Linked DNA regions of Homo sapiens: region 2 is linked to region 1. The links are contacts of gene promoters, found by promoter capture Hi-C in human tissues and cell types (Jung and others, 2019). All regions are on one chromosome and are shown on one strand. Each heading gives the region's core, a stretch centred on a gene start or on the middle of the fragment in contact. The rest is flanking DNA. Distances are from core to core; before and after follow the strand shown.

Region 1 (3,367 bases), core at 284-2,783:
TAGAACTTTGAAATAAAAGATTTGGATTTGATTTATCCTTACAGAGCAGATCATAGAAAATTCTTGTGTGAGGGCTTCTTTTATGTACATACATGTATATGAAAAGGAGGGTTTATGATCTTCCTGACCAAGCAACCTCCTGAAGAGCTGGATATATAATCATATTAGCACTGGCACCAAGGTATCTACCATTGATCTTTAATAAGTCTGCTTATGTAACTAAAGAGAAAACACTCCTCAACCTTTATACCACCACCTGCCCCTTGTTCCAGCCAGAAACGTTCTTGCTCAGAAAAACCCATTTAGCCTACCAAGAAAAGAATGGAAGGCATGGAGCCTCATCTTACTCATCTCTTGGGCCTAATACAGAGTTCAGTAAACAAAAGGCATTTCATAGACACTAACTTGCAGGCAGTGAGCCAATTTAATTGTTGCAAAATAATATAGTCCTCAAGGAGAGTATAGGAAAGAGATTTCCAATTTTTAAAAGTGGAGAGGAGACCCTCTTTGAGGAAAAATATTAAAATTCCTCCGCCTATAAATAGAAAGACACTTGAGTATCATGCTTACCGAGAATCGGTTGCCAGTGATATGAAGAGACCCATTAGAAGAGCACTCTCTTCAGGGTTTTGCCCAGGGCAAGTTTATCATCCTTATTCCTCAAACTGTAGATCGAAGGGTTAAGCATGGGAACCACATTGGTGTAAAAGACTGAGGCAAATCTGCCATGGTTCATAGAGCCAGGAAAAGATGTTGTTAAGTAGGTGAATGTCCCTGACCCAAAAAACAGAGCAACAGCAATTATGTGGGAGCCCCATGTGCTAAAGGCTTTGGATCTGCCCTCTGCAGAAGGAATACAGAGGATGTTGGAGAGTATCAAAGCGTAAGAGATGACGATGCTTATGCTGGATAGCATGGTGATTACTCCAACAACAATGAAAAATACCAGCTCACTGACATGGGTGCTGGTGCAGGAGAGCTGCAAGAGGGGGAGAACGTCACACAGATAATGGTCAATGACGTTGGAATCACAGAAGGTCAGTCGCAGCATGCTTCCAGTGTGGGCCATGGCCCCAGCAAACCCTACCACATAGGAACCAAACATCAGCAGAAAGCAGACCCTTGGGGACATGGTGACCATGTAGAGCAGGGGGTTGCAGATGGCCACATAGCGATCATAGGCCATTGATACCAACACATAGCACTCAGAATTGACAAAGAAACAGAAGAAAAATAGCTGAGTCATACATCCCACATAAGAGATGATACTTTCTGAAACAAAGTCATTCAGCATTTTGGGGGTAAACACACAGGAATAACAGAGATCTATAAAGGACAAGTTGAAGAGGAAAAAGTACATGGGGGTGTGAAGGCTAGGATTTATCCCAATTAAGGTGATCAAGCCCAAGTTGCCCACCACAGTGAACACATAGATCCCTAAGAATAGAAGGAAAAGAGGGAGCTGGAGCTCTGGCTGTTCTGATAATCCCACAAGGATAAACTCAGTCACTGAGGAGCTGTTTCTCAGAGTCATTCTCTCTTGGCGAGCTGTCTGGGGAAGCAGAGGGCAAAACACAAAGAGTCATGACAGGCACAAGCATGGCTAAGGGAAGAAGACTCTAGTGGACCAGCCAGTGTGCAGATGCCCTCTCTTCCATCCTCCCTCATCTACACACCTCCCCACCCTGAGGTATTAACAACGTGTCTGTGAGAGGATCTCAGCTCTGCTGGGCCGATCATGAATTCAAGCTAGCATCTGTTACCATGGGCAGCAAGAATTCCGTCTCTGCTTGAGAGATGACGAGGGAGACAACACACCTGAATTGGCTGCCCAGGGACTCTCAGAAAGACACCCTGAGAACCAAGAGTACAACCTGGGCCGCTGCCTCAAGAGCTGAGAGACCAGAGCTCTCAAGGTCACCAGGATGCCCTCCCATTCTCTGCCTCCGTCTCCCAACTAGATAGTGGATTTCCATCTGGAGAGAAAGCCAAGAGTGTTACCTGCTGGCTCTTTACATCCCACCCGCCTCCTCGAAGACCCTCCATTCCATCTCACCTCAGGGTCAGTGTTGAGAGCAGAGACGGGATCCATACTTCCCAGAGCCCTTGGTTGTGGGTTTCAAAGAGACCATCAGGAAAGACAGGATTCGGACCTTCACCTTCCTTCTCCCGGGCCCCACTCAGTGCTGGGCCTTACGCCATCTCTTTTTCCATTAGCCAGAAAGAGAAAATGGTGCTGCTTGTGCAGAAAGCACACAGCCTTGCGTATTACCTCTTTTGACTCCCTTGGTGCTGAGAATCAGAGCTTTTACAGACCCCAGGCTCCAAGGTGCTCAAGGAATAGACCATGGTTTCTGTTTGTGGATTTTCCCAGGTGGTCTTGACAACTTCAGGAAAAAAAACTAGGAACTCTCATTTTGACCAGAACCCCAGCTGTCATATCACAGAGGAATTTAAGCTGCTTGACGATCTCAGGGACCTGATTAGACACAGTTTCCCCTGGGAATTTCTCCAAGATCTGTCTCTATAGGGAAGGAATTGCACTGTCTTTGTTTACAGCCTGGATAACGGTGCTTACCTAGCATCTTGGGAGTGGGGGTTCCACTCAAACTTTCCCTCTACTCCAGGGATTTCATGTTATTCAGTGCTGAGTTTGGGGACTCATTTTTTCCTTTCTCATTAACTCTCAGAGCCTAAGCTTGAATTTAAGAGTGAATAGCCCCAACCTAAGCCACCATCTCCAAATCTTCACAGGGAGCTATGAGAGTAGGACCCCTCAGAAAAGGTCAGATCAGATCTACAGAGAGCACCTCAGATAAAAGGCTTCTTGGACCATGCGCTGCTCAGAACAGAAACCACACCACCTCCACCACAAACACCACCTACTCGCAGCTCTAATAAGGGCCGCAGACAGGCCTTTACTATATATGAAGAGATTAAAATATCACAACACATATGCTAGAAAGCACACACACACACACACACACACACACACACACACACACACACCCCTACACAGAGTTACTCTCTAGGCATGCAGGCTTAAGGTATAATGGGAGATGGATGTAAGGGTCTAATCCTGCCATTATTCAGATGACAAAGCTGCTCTCCATATGATCTGCTAGATGAATATTTTAAGAAAAATTCAAAGACATGGGAGCATCTGCATTTGTAAGTTTCACTAAGGCTACCTAAAATAATCCCAGTTCGCCTGGGACAGTCCTGACTTACACTCATTATCTCTGTATAATTATTAATAGCATACCCTTTCACTCTCAGAAGTGTCTGGACTTGGACAACAAATTGTGTATACTAACTAAAAGTAAGTAGGCATATTTACCTAAAGACATGCCAAGATTGTGCACTG
Region 2 (3,367 bases), core at 337-2,836, 72 kb after region 1:
TCCTCACCTGAGACTTTCATTTGGTACACAAAAGTTTTGTTTTACTTTATTGAGGGAATATATAATAACTACTTATAAATTCTTATCTGTTAATTTCAACATCTGGTTCCTCTTGTGTTCCAATGAATTGATTTTTTTCTTGAGAAATTTTTTTCATTTTCTTAGTTCTTTATATGTCAGGTAACTTGAGATTGTATCCTGGACATCGTAAATGTTAAGTGGAAAGTCTGGATTTTTTTTTTTCTCCAGTGAGTTTTGTTTGCCTTCCTTTTACACAGAATTTTCTTGGCTGGGCTTAAAATGCAAGTTTTTCTTTCTTGAGCATGTCTGATACCAGTCCAGATATTTCATCTTTACTTGAGCTGCTGAGTCTGTGCTGCACGTGCATGATTTAGGTCAAAGATGTGAGTGAATCCAGTTTGGGGATCTCCTCTCTGGTTCATTTGTTTCCAGAACTTCCCCAGCTCTCTTCAGTATTTGGGATTTCTTGACTTTGCTTTTCTTGTTTCCTGAGTTAGAGAGGCTATGAATTTTTCCACATGGGCACTGTGTAGGCTACACTTGGTGCCAAGGAAAAAGCTACCAAGATGGGCGCTTACTTAGTATCGCTCCCCATCTCCCCTCCTCCAAGTGATTCTTCATTCCCTACCAGGATCAATCTGCTTCTGTTCATTCTACAGCACCTTCAGGGATTTTTGCTTTTCTTTAATTATGTCTACATTTAATTTTCCTGTAGGGGTGTCATCTGGTAGAGTTTTTGCTCGATCATACCCAGAATTTCTTTTTTTATCCGTTTATAATATACCCGCATTTCTTCACCCTACGCTATGGATAGCATACTTAAAGTGCAAAAATCTTCAGAGAGCAACACAGTCTGCAGTCACCACTCAGATCAAGGTACAGAACATTTCCAACACCCAGAAGTTTCTTTCGTGACACTCTTTAGTCAACAGCAACACCACTCTCCCAAGAAGTTCCCATATTCTGTATTCTACCTTTATAGACCAACTTCACCTATTCTTGAACTTGACATATTTTGTTCCCTGGTTTATTTTGATAATTATGTCTGTGAGATAGATGGGTCTGTGTTGTTATATGCAGCAGTACTTTGAAGGTTTTTTCTGTGTATTTTACCATTGTATTAATATACAGTTTGTTTCTCCATTTCATTTTATGACAATAATTATTTCTTAAAATAATGTCGGATGATGCAGCTCTGATGGTAATAGAAAACATTATACATGACTTACATACTACACAGATAGATACTGAATATGTGTGTCACTTCAAAAGTTTCTGGGTAGGTTTATAAAATAGCAAAGGTCATCAACACATCTCTAAATTCATGTTAATGTTTATTAAAGTTAATTACATTATTGTTAGTTAAATTCTTGTTTAACATACATTTATGTTTTAAGTAGTCAAAATCACAATAAAGATCTATTTTTCATGGGCCGTATAACTTTGCTTTATTGCCTATTGACTTTCCCTAGATAATCAATTCAGAAAGTAGCTCATGCCCCATTTTATAAAATTAGAGACCTTGATGAAACATAATTACATGTTTTAACATATAGTGTATTTTTGCTTTGATAACATATTGCTGATCATATCTTTCATTTATTTTACTTTTTTTTTTTTTTTTTTTTTGAGACAGAGTCTCACTGTGTCACCTAGGCTGGAGTGCAGTGGTGCCATCTCGGCTCATTACAACCTCCGCCTCCGGGGTTCAAGTGATTCTCCTACCTCAGCTTCCCGAGTAGCTGGGACTACAGGTGTGCATCACCACGCCCAGCTGATTTTTGTATTTTTAGTAGAGATGGCATTTCACCATGTTGGCCAGGATGGTCTCGATCTCTTGACCTCGTGATCCGCCCGCCTTGGCCTCCCAAAGTGCTGGGATTACAAGTGTGAGCCACCGTGCCTGGCCTATTTTACTTTAAATTCTACTCAGAAACCATGTCCCATTATGTTACTATTACATTGTTTCTAAGAAAATATGTTCTCAGATTTATAATATAGTAGGAACATATTACTATGAGTCATGAATAATAAGCAGGTTAACAGCAGAGGGTGAAGGAGGGCATTGCAGGCATAGGAACAAAAAAAAAAAAAAAAGCAAAAACAAAAATTGGAAATGGAAGCCCAGTAAAGCCCTGCATATTTGGGCAAAGGTGCATGACACTACGGGCTACAATGCTGAATGGGTGGAAGGGTAAGAAGGCGGTAGTTGAGGTTGTTAAAGATGATGACCATTTATCCTATTCTCTGCACCCTCACTGGAAGACAAATTGAGAAATAAGACACAGGATAATCACAGAAGCAGATAAAAATGTCAGCTTTTTTTTTTTTTTTTTTTTTTTTTGAGATAGAGTCTCACTCTGTCACCCAGCTTGGAGTGCAATGGCACAATCTGGGCTCACTGCAACTTCTGCCTCCCAGGTTCAAGCGATTCTCCTGCCTCAGCCTCCCAAGTAGCTGGGATTACAGGTGCTTACCACCACGCCCGGCTAATGTTTGTATTTTTAGTAGAGATGGGGTTTCACCATGCTGGCTAGGCTGGTCTGGAACTCCTGACTTTAGGCAGTCTGCCCTCCTCAGGCTCCCAAAGTGCTGGGATTACAGGCGTGAGCCACCACGCCCGGCCCAAAATTTCAGCTTTAATACTGATAAAGTTAACTGGAGGACACAGCTTAAATCTACAACCACACTGGGATTTTCTGATTCCCTCATTGCTTTTGCCAGACAAGCCTAATGAACCCAGGCACAAGGAGAAACAAACAATATCAGGCCTCCCCTACCAAGGGGGATGGGGTACATCAAAGAGGCTACAAATGCTGGTCCAGAGGACAGGCCAGTCCTAAAAAGAGAACCCTGTGGAGACCAGGCCATTCAACTCCAGTTCAGTTACCCAGCTTCAGCAGGGAAAAGCGGAAATATGGATAAAATAAAAGGATTCCTCTCATTCTTTACTCTGCTAGGGCATGAAAAATAGGTGCCCATTTAAAAGGAATCATCTGCTTTCGGCCAGAAATAATTGGCCCATTTAGAAAGAAGGGAAATCTTTTGCCAAAACCAGGTTTCCTCTTGTGAAAAACACGTAATTGCTTATCTCATATAAGTACATAGTTGCGTGTTAAATTATTGCTTCCGACGCCCCATAAATATAGCTAAGAACTATTTCACTGCTGATACATTTATTTTTCAAATTATCTTGAAAAAGTAACTAGAAAATGTAAAGAAGGCAACCTCTCTAAAACTATTTCCACTTCAGCCCAGACGTTTCCCTACACTGGTTGGTGACCTGACCTACTTCTGGGGAACGAGATTATCCTATGCAATCTTTGGACAAATAACCAAAATGTGA

What was found. The method cuts DNA at HindIII sites, captures the fragments that hold promoters and counts their contacts. A contact is called where the count stands out against the background at its distance.
Region 2: a fragment that was not itself captured here is called in contact with the fragment with the promoter of OR8B4 in region 1 in 2 of the 25 tissues and cell types used here (adrenal gland and thymus).

What each region holds. Positions count from the first base shown.
Region 1 is chr11:124,423,338-124,426,704 of GRCh38, forward strand. OR8B4 (olfactory receptor family 8 subfamily B member 4) reads right to left here and starts at 1,534. Exons shown (of 1, transcript NM_001005196.1): 1 at 605-1,534. The coding sequence starts at 1,534. The coding sequence ends at 605. The HindIII fragment of the contact is 10,487 bases long and covers 1-3,367 here.
Region 2 is chr11:124,495,017-124,498,383 of GRCh38, forward strand. No RefSeq gene overlaps it. Among named protein-coding and RNA genes, the nearest start is that of OR8B12, 47 kb to the right of the region's middle. The HindIII fragment of the contact is 7,572 bases long and covers 1-3,367 here.